2 separate regions of the Homo sapiens genome follow, and region 2 is linked to region 1. The links are contacts of gene promoters, found by promoter capture Hi-C in blood cells and fetal thymus (Javierre and others, 2016). All regions are on one chromosome and are shown on one strand. The core of a region is centred on a gene start or on the middle of the fragment in contact, and the rest is flanking DNA. Distances in the headings are between cores, read along the strand shown. Region 1 holds the start of DHRS1 (dehydrogenase/reductase 1). Region 2 overlaps NEDD8-MDP1 (NEDD8-MDP1 readthrough).

Region 1 (5,015 bases), core at 1-2,500:
CTCCGCACACACTAATCTTTGGCTTGCTAAGCCCTGTTCAGATTAGGACAGGTCAAGCTAATTCTTCCCGGTCAAGCTCCCCCATGAAGACTTACTCTTCTGTTTACTGTCTCATTCTGAACTTTCTAAATTCTTCTTCCCCCTAGGTCCACTTTCCTCTTGTAATACTTACCAGATGATTGGGAACCACGGGGCCTGGCTCTCTCAGACTCCAGAATAGTCCCTCCTAACACCTGAAGCAGAGTTCTGACCACGAAGCTGCCATGTGTGTCTCCACAGTAGACAAGAAAATCATCACACACCTCAGCGGCTAGTCCCAGGACCAGCTCCTCCAGGGTCTCCGTGGGACCATCCTTTCCATCCTCCTCCTCCTCCTCCTCCTCCTCTGCAGCACTCCCCAGCAATCGAGGGAGCTGTAGCAAAGCACTTTGTAATACATGGACCCCGCATCGGTGACAGGCCACAGTGCGCAAGTTAGAGCGCAGAGCAGCCCACACGCGACAAAGCGGTTTCAAGGGACTGAATCCCAACAGTTCCTGCAGCATCTCACTGCCAGTCCTGTTCGTGGACAAAGCTAGGGCCTGAGTCTCTACTTCCTTCATTATATTGTGCACCATCAGATCTGAAAAGGGAAGAAAGACACACTTTGAAGAGACTTAGTAGAGAATACAGTTATGTACCCTCGCTTAACCAAGGGTCGTGGGTCGGAGGCCGAGGAAGAGGACATGGGAAATGAAACTAAGTCCCCACGCCCTGCCGACCCTAGAAAGTTTCCTTGCCTGCCCTGGATTTGATGCTCTTGGTCTAAACCCCGAAGTTGCTGCCTACCTCGTTCTTCCCCAGTCTCGGGAGCCTCTTTCAATGCTGACAGCGCCCGGCGGAAATATCCCAGAGCTTCCGGGCTCAGGTGCGGGTGCGAATCTGGAGCCGGCTCCGAGCGCCCATCCGGAGGCGGCCAGGGTTGCCGCTTACGGCCTGGTAAGGGGCGCCCCGACCCCTTGGCCCCGCGCCCCCGTTTGCCACCAGCTGGGAACCGGCGCCCCACCTTGTGTGGAGAGCGCGGACCCTGCCCCATGTGTGCTTCGCGACCTGTCCGGCTGCAAAAGCTTCCTTAACTGCGGACGGACCTTCGACGTCGCCAAGCGTGCGCCTTATCCAGACAAAGTTTAGAAACGCGGGCGCGCTCCTGACGCAGCTACTACGTCATAGTTCCGCGCCGCCCCAGCCGGGCGGGGTGGGTGTGTCACCCAGATCGCTCCGCCCCCATCCGCAGGTTCTAACTTTGGCCTGGGACTCTGCCCCTCTACCTCAGCACAGAATCGCCCCGGGTCCTACTACAGAATCAATCCTTGAACACTGCCTCCACGTCGCCGGCTCAATCTGGGCGAGAACCCAGACTTCCACCGCAGCCCCGCAATCTGCAGACCTCAGCGGCAGCGCAGGTGGCAGGTAAGCGGCGCACGCTCGTCCCACTTAGGGCTTAGGATCTCCAGGCTTCGCGCTCATCCCCGGCCCGGAAGCTGCGCCTCTGGCTCAGCCGGACTGGGTCAGGCCAGGGACCGGAGCTTCAGATAGCCCAGGACTCTGCGTGGACGCGCCCCGAGGGGCTGCCGCGCCAGATTCCCATATCCAGGCAGCCACACTCAGAGGGTTGTAGTAGTTGTCCACCTCTGGACAGTCCCACTCAGCCCCTTCTTCACTCTCTGGGCCTCCCAAAAGACAGTCAGCCTTGTCCTCAGGCCCGCACCCAGTTGTCAGCCTCTGACTCCTCTCCCCTCAAAGGATTCTTACCTTGGCTCCTCCTCTTAGCCCTAGTGAGGTTCTCCCCTACCCCCCAACCTCGCCCCAACACACACACAGTCTCCAGGCTTCCCTCAGAGTAAGTCTTTGCTTCCACAGACCTGCCTCCTTTGCCTGTGAGTCATGGCAGCTCCCATGAATGGCCAAGTGTGTGTGGTGACTGGTGCCTCCAGGGGTATTGGCCGTGGCATTGCCTTGCAGCTCTGCAAAGCAGGCGCCACAGTTTACATCACTGGCCGCCATCTGGACACCCTTCGCGTTGTTGCTCAGGAGGTGAGTGCTTCCTCTGGGACCACAGTTGCAGAAACCACCCGAGAGAGCCCTTCCACTTAACAGCTCCTTTCCTAATCCCTTACCTGAAACTATAATACTACTCAACAAGATGTGAATATTTATTCAAAGTGGAAATTAAAAACCCCGTAAATAACTTCAGGTAAGGTAGAATTTTGCCGCCAAGTGAGTTTTATGAAAAAACTTTGTGTTTGAGCCAGGCATGGTGGCACGTTCCTGCAGTCCCAGCAGCTACTCCGGAGGCTGAGGCAGGAGGATCGCTTGAGCCTAGGAGTTGAGCCATGATCACACCACTGCACTCCAGTCTAGACGACACAGCGAGACACTGTATTAAAAAAAAGAAAAGAAAGAAAAGTAAAAAACTTTTTGTTTGAGAGCAGAGATTTTGGAATTGCAACTAAAGGGTTGTGGACCTGTGCTTTCCTCTATTTCAGGCAAGACTTTATTGAACTGCACATTTTTTACTTATTTACTAGACTTCAGTTAAATAAATATTTGAGTATCCATGATTTGCTAGGCATTGGTAAACCACTGAAGTTACCAAGACTAATAAAATCTAATTTCTGCTCTTCAAAGATTCAGTCCATGGTGGAGTACAGTGGCTCATGCCTGTAGTCCCAGCACTTTGGGTGGCCAAGGCAGCAAGATCACTTGAGGCCAGCAGTTGGAGACCAGTCTGGGCAACATAGCTAGACCCAGTCTCTACAAAAAATATTTTTTAAATAATTAGCTAGGCACAGTGGCCTGCACCTGTAGTACCATCTACTTGGGAGGCTGAGGCAGGAGGATCGTTTGAGCCCAGGAGTTCGAGGTTGCAGTGAGCTATGATTGCACCACTGCACTCCAGCCTGGTGACAGTGAGACCCTGTCTCTAAAAAAAAAAATTTTAATTAAAAATGAAGATAGATTCCAACAGGAAGTCAGGTACAGAAAGCAGTCACTTCAATGTAATGTGAATATGGTAAATTATAAGAGGGAGATATGCACAGAATACTCTAGGGGTGTTGGGGAGCATCCAGATGACATAGGAGAGTGGCTAGGGAAAGTGGTTTGGGAAAGCGTCCTGGAGGAGGTAGGTGGTTCTTGAACTGAGTTTTGAAAGGTAAGAATTAGGTAAAGGAAGTTAGGAAAAGCATTCCAGCAGAGGGAGCTCCATAAGCATAGGGACGCTGTGTGAAAGAGTAGATGTGTGAGATAATGCAAGGGAAGAGTAGTGAGTGAGAGGCTGGAGAGGAAAGAGTGGGTCTTGGAAGACCCTAATAGAGAACTCAGGCTTCATCCTCTAAGAGATGGAGATCCAGTTAGGAGATTTTGAACAGGGTTTGTGTTTTAGATAGGTCGTACTGGCTGGATTATGAAGAATTAATTTAAGGCAGACAGACTGGAGGTCAGGTGAGTCGTTGGGAGGCATTGCAGTAGTTCAGGCAAGGAGGGTAATAGGCGGGGACCCAGAGCATAAATTTGGAGAATAGGAGGATTGTTCTTAGATAAAGGACTCTTCTTCCTCTGAAGTTGGAGGTTTGTGGGCATTTGTAGAGAGTGAGACAGAACAGGAAGTAGAAATCATTCATGGCTGATAGCTTTGGTTTTTTCAATTACCAACCAGGAGCATTGGTGGAGTGAGGGTAAGACAACTGGGACTGAGTAGAGGTTTTAGGTGAGTAGTGTAGGGTGGGAGCTAAGGGCATGAGAGATGGAAATGACCACAACAAGGAAAAGGATGCTTACTCATTTCTCAAGAGCAGACTCCATGCCTCACTTGTTCTTACCCTCTACTTGCAAAGTACAATGCTGTGCACATGGTGGGCCTCAGTAAATGTTTGTAGATTATTAAAACTTACATTGCAATTCACCTTGCTCTGTGGTGGGGAGGCCTATCATTCCTGAAACTACTCAAACAGACACCAGAGGGCAGCGTTGCCTGCCATGTTGCCTCTGCAGCAGGCTCTCCTAGGATTGATTGTCTTCTCAGTTCTCAAGCCCACTTTGGTTGGGGAGTTTTGTCATGACTCACACCCATGTGTGAATGTGAGCTCATATCCCCTGTCCTACTCCAGGCACAATCCCTCGGGGGCCAATGTGTGCCTGTGGTGTGCGATTCAAGCCAGGAGAGTGAAGTGCGAAGCCTGTTTGAGCAAGTGGATCGGGAACAGCAAGGGCGTCTAGATGTGCTGGTCAACAATGCTTATGCAGGGGTCCAGGTACCCTTTGAACTTTGTTCCCAACTCCACATTTCTGACCTCCCCCTCAGACCCCTGCATCTTCATCCCCACTCATTGTCCCTTCCATTACCCAGCCCCTCACACCTCCCTACCTTCAGATCATTCATCACCCTCCCTGTGCCTTCCAGACGATCCTGAACACCAGGAATAAGGCATTCTGGGAAACCCCTGCCTCCATGTGGGATGATATCAACAACGTCGGACTCAGGTGGGTGCTCCACTGCCAGGACCCATGTTCCCTCACTCACTTAGCCAACTCGACGGCCAGGCCTTTCCTTACATGCCCTCTCCTTTTCCCTCCGGCCTCCCCCATCTCTTTCTTCTCCCTTCCATTCCATTTGTCCCACTTACCTCTGGAGAAGTTCCATCCAGGTGAGTCTGTACCTGAGAATGTCAACTCTGTCAGTAATTTTCATTGGAACAAGCCCTTGGCCTCTCTCCTGTCTCACTCTCTGCCCATCCAAATGCAAGACCCAGAAGGGAGGAAGCCTCCTCCTCTCAGTAATGCGCACAGCCTGTAGTCTATACTTTCAAAATGGTTAGAGGGAGAAATTGTTTTATTTTAGACTGGGAGAAGCTTAAGAAGAAGGAGCGAACACCAATGCTGTTTAGTCTCCACATCCTCACTCCACACCCACAGGCAAGGGCACTGCCGGGTCAGAGTTGGGAGAGCAGGTACATCACTGGGTCACACAGGGTCAT
Region 2 (5,015 bases), core at 1,246-3,745, 78 kb after region 1:
TGGCTGGGCGCGGTGGCTCACGCCTGTAATCCCAGCACTCTGGGAGGCCGAGGCGGGCGGATCACAAGGTCAGGAGATCGAGACCATCCTGGCTAACACAGTGAAAACCCGTCTCTACTAAAAAATACAAAAAATTAGCCTGGGCGTAGTGGCGGGCGCCTGTAGTCCCAGCTACTCTGGAGGCTGAGGCAGGAGAATGGCGTGAACCCGGGAGGTGGAGCTTGCAGTGAGCCGAGATCGTGCTACTGCACTCCAGCCTGGGCGACAGAGCGAGACTCTGTCTCAAAAAAATAAAAATAAAAATAATAAAAAATACAAAATACAAAAATTAGCCAGGCGTAGTGACACGCGGCTGTAACCCCAGCTACTTGGGAGGCTGAGGCAGGAGAATTGCTTGAGCCTGGGAGGCGGAGGTTGTGGTGAGCCAGATGATGCCACAGCACTCCAGTCTGGGTGACAGACTGAGACCTTGCCTCAAAAAAAAAAAAAATTTTTTTTTTTTTCCAAAAAAGAATTAGCCAGGCATGGTGGTGTGTGCTTGTAGTCCCAGCTATTCAGAATGCTGAGGTGGGATGATACTTTCAGCCCAGGAGTTGGAGGCTGCAGTGAGCCATGATTACTCCACTGTGTTCCAGGCTGGGACACAGAGCAAGACTCCATCTCAAATAAATAAATAAATAAATAAATATAAAAAACTTTTAAGTATGTTTAGAACAAGTTGGGTGTATAAATCTACTTTTTCTATTGTAAATTATGAAACTTAAATATATGTCAAGTATTTCAGATGAAAATTTACCATTTGAATTTTTTTGTTTTTCTGGGTTTTTTTTGGAGATAGGGTCTCCCTCTGTCACCCAAGCTGGAGTGCAGTGGCACAATCAGCCCACTACGGCATTGAACTCCTGGGCTTGGGCAGTCTTGCCTCAGCCTTCTGAGTACCCAGTTGCTGGGACTACAGGCCTGTGCCACTATGCCTGGCTAATTTTATTGTAGAGATGGGGATCTCACTATGTTGCCCAGGCTGGTCTCAAAACTCCAAGCCTCAAGCAGTACTCCCACATCCCCTTCCCAAAGTGTTGAGATTACAGGCATATGCTACCATGCCCAGCCTACCATCTCTATTTTTTTTTTTTTTTTTTTTTTTGAAATGCAGTCTTGCTCTGTTGCCCAGGCTGGAGTGCAGTGGCATGATCTCAGCTCACCGTAACCTCCGCCTCCTGGGTTCAGGCGATTCTCCTGCCTCAGCCTCCCCAGTAGCTGGGACTACAGGCGCCCACCACCATGCCCAACTAATCTTTGTATTTTTAGTAGAGATGGGGTTTCACTGTGTTGGCCAGGCTGGTCTCAAACTCCTGACCTCGTGATCCGCCCCCTCGGCCTCCTAAAGTGCTAGGATTACAGGTGTGAGCCACCGCACCCAGCCCCATCTCTACATGTGATGTAAATATGAAATACAGGATTTTTAGGATTTGGTTAGAAAAAACATAAAATATATTAATTTTTATATTGATTACATGTGAATAATATTTTGGCTATGTTGGGTTTAAAAATATTAAAATTTTACCTCTTAAAGAACTTTTACAATATGGCTACTAGTAAATTTAAAAATTGCATGTATGGCTTGTATTATATTTCTACAAGGCAGTGCTGCTTTACAAAATCTTACCCTTATCAAGGACATTGTTTTTTAAATAATTTGTTCTCATTACAGCATATTCACATTTGTGGTATAAAAAATGGAAAATACAGAAAAGCATAATAATGTAATTAAAATCACCCATAATTCCACTGCTCAAGTTAAAGCATTAATATACTGTATATACCCTTCCAAGCTTTTTGGAGAGCATATAGATGCATGTGTTGTTTTTACAAAATTTTAATTATACTCTATATACTATAACTTTTTTGTTAAATTATCAGCATATTGTTAATATATTACAAATAGTTATCCTAAACATTGTTTGAGGGATTTGTAATTTTTTTTCTATGATTGTACCATAATTTATTTAACCCTCAACTGTTTGATATTTAGATTGTGTTTCTAATTTTACAGTATCAAAAGGTTGCAATAACCATTGTTGTAGGTATACTTTTGGACATAGTCATGAGTATTTTCCTGGAAGTATTGTTGCTGGGACACCATATTGCCAAATTGCTCTCTAGATATATTTATGGGCCTCTACAGTCGATTTCAGAAACAAAGGGCCAGCTCTAGACTTTTAGAATTTACAAACCAATAATCCTTTTTAAAAATATAAGGTCCAAGCATTTTGCTCTTGGGAGAGCAGCTCTAGGTCTTCTCTGAGAGTCTTTTTTCACTCTTTAAAAATTTGTGGTCGGGTGCGGTGGCCCACATCTATAATCCCAGCACTTTGGGAGGCCGAGGCAGGCAGATCACCTGAGGTCGGGAGTTCAAGACCAGCCTGACCAATATGGAGAAACCCTTCTCTACTAAAAATACAAAATTAGCCAGGTGTGGTGGTGCATGCCTGTAGTCCCAGCTACTTGGGAGGCTGAGATAGGAGAATTGCTTGAACCTGGGAGGCAGAGGTTGCAGGGTGAGCTGAGATTGTGCCGTTGCACTCCAGCCTGGGCAGCAAGAGTAAAACTCCATCTCAAAATAAATAAATAAATAAAAATTTGTATTATCGGCCAGGCACGGTGGCTCATGCCTATAATCCCAGCACTATGGGAGGCTGAGGCAGGTGGATCACTTGAGGTCAGGAGTTCGAGACCAGCCTGGGCAACATGGCAAAACCCCATCTCTACTAAAAATACAAAATGTAGTCAGGCGTGGTGGTGCCCGCCTGTGATGCCAGCTACTCAAGAGGCTGAGGTGGGGATCACCTGAGCCCAGTATGTCGAGGCTGCGGTGAGCCATGATTGCACCATTGCACTCCATCCGGGTGAGACTGAGACCCCGTCTCAAAAAAAAAAAAAAAGAAAGTGAAATAATTTGTGGACAACACAGAATTACAAACTTTTTATTTTGTCTTTTTAAAGTTACCACAAATTGTCACCACCATTCTCTGAAAGGACATTAACACCTGAATATATTTAGTTTCATGAAAATTTCACTTTTAACACTGCTTTTCTCATTTTACCATAGGCTGCTGAAAATTTTCACACAGACCAGCATAGGTTAGGGTAGAAGCTTGAGAATCACTGCTGTAATTTATTCTTTCATATCCAAACAGGTTAATCCAAAGGAATTGTTCTTGTATTTTTGGAAACATACTAGTACTAAATCATTCTCCTTGTTGGGAAATTTTCTGAGTTCTTGTTTCGTGCTGTTCTATGTGAATACCATAAGGAGAAACCATATGTTATTTTGTGAGCTACTATAGGAGTGTACATTGGGTCCCAATACTAGACCAGCCAGACTCAGGTAGGACGGAGTACAGAAATAAAAGCACAGGCTCTGGGACCAGGGAATCTGGATCCAATCTCTACTTTTGATTGCGTAGATGTGTTTTTAACCTAAGGCTTATTTTTCTCATCTATAAAATGGAAATAGTAATAGTCCATATCTCATAAATACTGGGAGGATTAAATGTGATGCATGTAAGATGCTGATCATAGTTACTGACCCTTAGAAAGTGTTCAATGGCTGGGCAAGGTGGCTCATGCCTGTAATCCCAGCTCTTTGGGAGGCCGAGGCAGGAGGATCACTTGAGCCCATGAGTTTGAAACCAGCCTGAGCAACACAGAACTCGTCTCTACAAAAAAATCTTAAAAATAGCTGAGTGTGGTGGTGCACACACCCTGTAGTCCTTGCTACTTAGGAGGCTGAGGTGGGAGGGTTGTTTGAACCCAGGAGGTCAAGGCTGCAGTGAGCCAGGATCACACCACTGAACTCCAGCCTGCTTGATACAGTGAGACCCTGTCTCTTAAAAAAATAAAAGGAAAAAAATAGTTTTCAGTAAATGTTAGCTGTGATTATAATATGATCATCAGTATATTTAGCCCTTCAAAAATATTCATTGACTGCTTGTGTGTCAAACACTAGGAAAGTTTAACACTTAAACAACTAGCTGTAATTGGTATATTAATATTGGAAGTATTAATAAAGTACACTGGGAACAGGTCTACACATCATACAGGAGGTTTTATACATTGCTGGAGTGCAATGGCACAATCTCAGCTCACCGCAACTTCTGCCTCCTGGGTTCAAGAGATTCTCCTGCCTCAGCCTCCTGAGTAGTTGGGATTACAGGCATGCGCCACCACGCCTGGCTAATTTTGTATTTTTTAATAGAGAAGGCTTTCTCCATGTTGGCCAGGCTGGTCTTGAACTCCCAACCTCAGGTAATCCACCCACCTCAGCTTCCCAAAGTGCTGGGATTACAGGCATGAGCCACTGTGCCCGGCCAGGAGGAGATCTTACATTTAAGGGGTCTTGAAGTTTGGAGAAGAAGGGGAGGATATTGCAACAAGGAAAATAACGGAAGCAAAGAAATGCCCATAAATTAGAATGAGCATGGTGTGTTTGTGGCCTGGATCACTGTAGACTAATACAGATAGAGCTATTAAGAGCAAGGACAGATGGGAGAAGACACAACATTTATGACTGCATAATCAGTATAATTATTGTATTTGGATATCACCAGCCCTTAACTTACGGAAGAAGACAAGAGCTGCAATTTAGGATTTAGGTAGAAGTCTGGAAAGATATGGGAGATGTAATGTTGACTTCTTGTCTTCTTTTCTCTTTTTTCTTTTACTTTCTTTTTTTTTTTTTTTTTTTTTTTTTTGCGAGGGTGTTGCCCAGGCTGGAGTACAGTGGCACAATCGTGGCTTACTGCTGCTGCCTCTAATTTCTGGACTCAAGTGATCCTCCCACCTCAGCCTCCCAAATAGCTGGTACTACAGGCATGCACCACTGTACTCAGCTAATTTTTGTTGTTGTTGTTGTTGTTGTTGTTGTTTTGGTTGAGACAGGGTTTCGCTGTGTTGTCCAGGCTGGTCTGGAACTCCTAGGCTCAAGTGATCCTCCCGCCTCAGTCTCCCAAGGT

The links. The method cuts DNA at HindIII sites, captures the fragments that hold promoters and counts their contacts. A CHiCAGO score of 5 or more calls a contact.
Region 2: a fragment that was not itself captured here is called in contact with the fragment with the promoter of DHRS1 in region 1 in 17 of 17 cell types (naive CD8 T cells, total B cells, total CD8 T cells and 14 more); the score reaches 22.8 in naive CD8 T cells.

The regions. Positions count from the first base shown.
Region 1 is chr14:24,296,015-24,301,029 of GRCh38, reverse strand. DHRS1 (dehydrogenase/reductase 1) reads left to right here and starts at 1,250. Exons shown (of 9, transcript NM_001136050.3): 1 at 1,250-1,449; 2 at 1,900-2,073; 3 at 4,149-4,292; 4 at 4,442-4,521. The coding sequence starts at 1,924. NOP9 (NOP9 nucleolar protein) reads right to left here and starts at 1,180. Exons shown (of 10, transcript NM_174913.3): 1 at 829-1,180; 2 at 173-622. The coding sequence starts at 1,075. RefSeq lists an enhancer at 1,906-2,696. The HindIII fragment of the contact is 3,784 bases long and covers 1,109-4,892 here.
Region 2 is chr14:24,219,215-24,224,229 of GRCh38, reverse strand. All of the region lies in intron 1 of NEDD8-MDP1 (NEDD8-MDP1 readthrough), which reads left to right. All of the region lies in intron 1 of NEDD8 (NEDD8 ubiquitin like modifier), which reads left to right. Among named protein-coding and RNA genes, the nearest start is that of MDP1, 5.7 kb to the right of the region's middle. The HindIII fragment of the contact is 1,322 bases long and covers 1,835-3,156 here.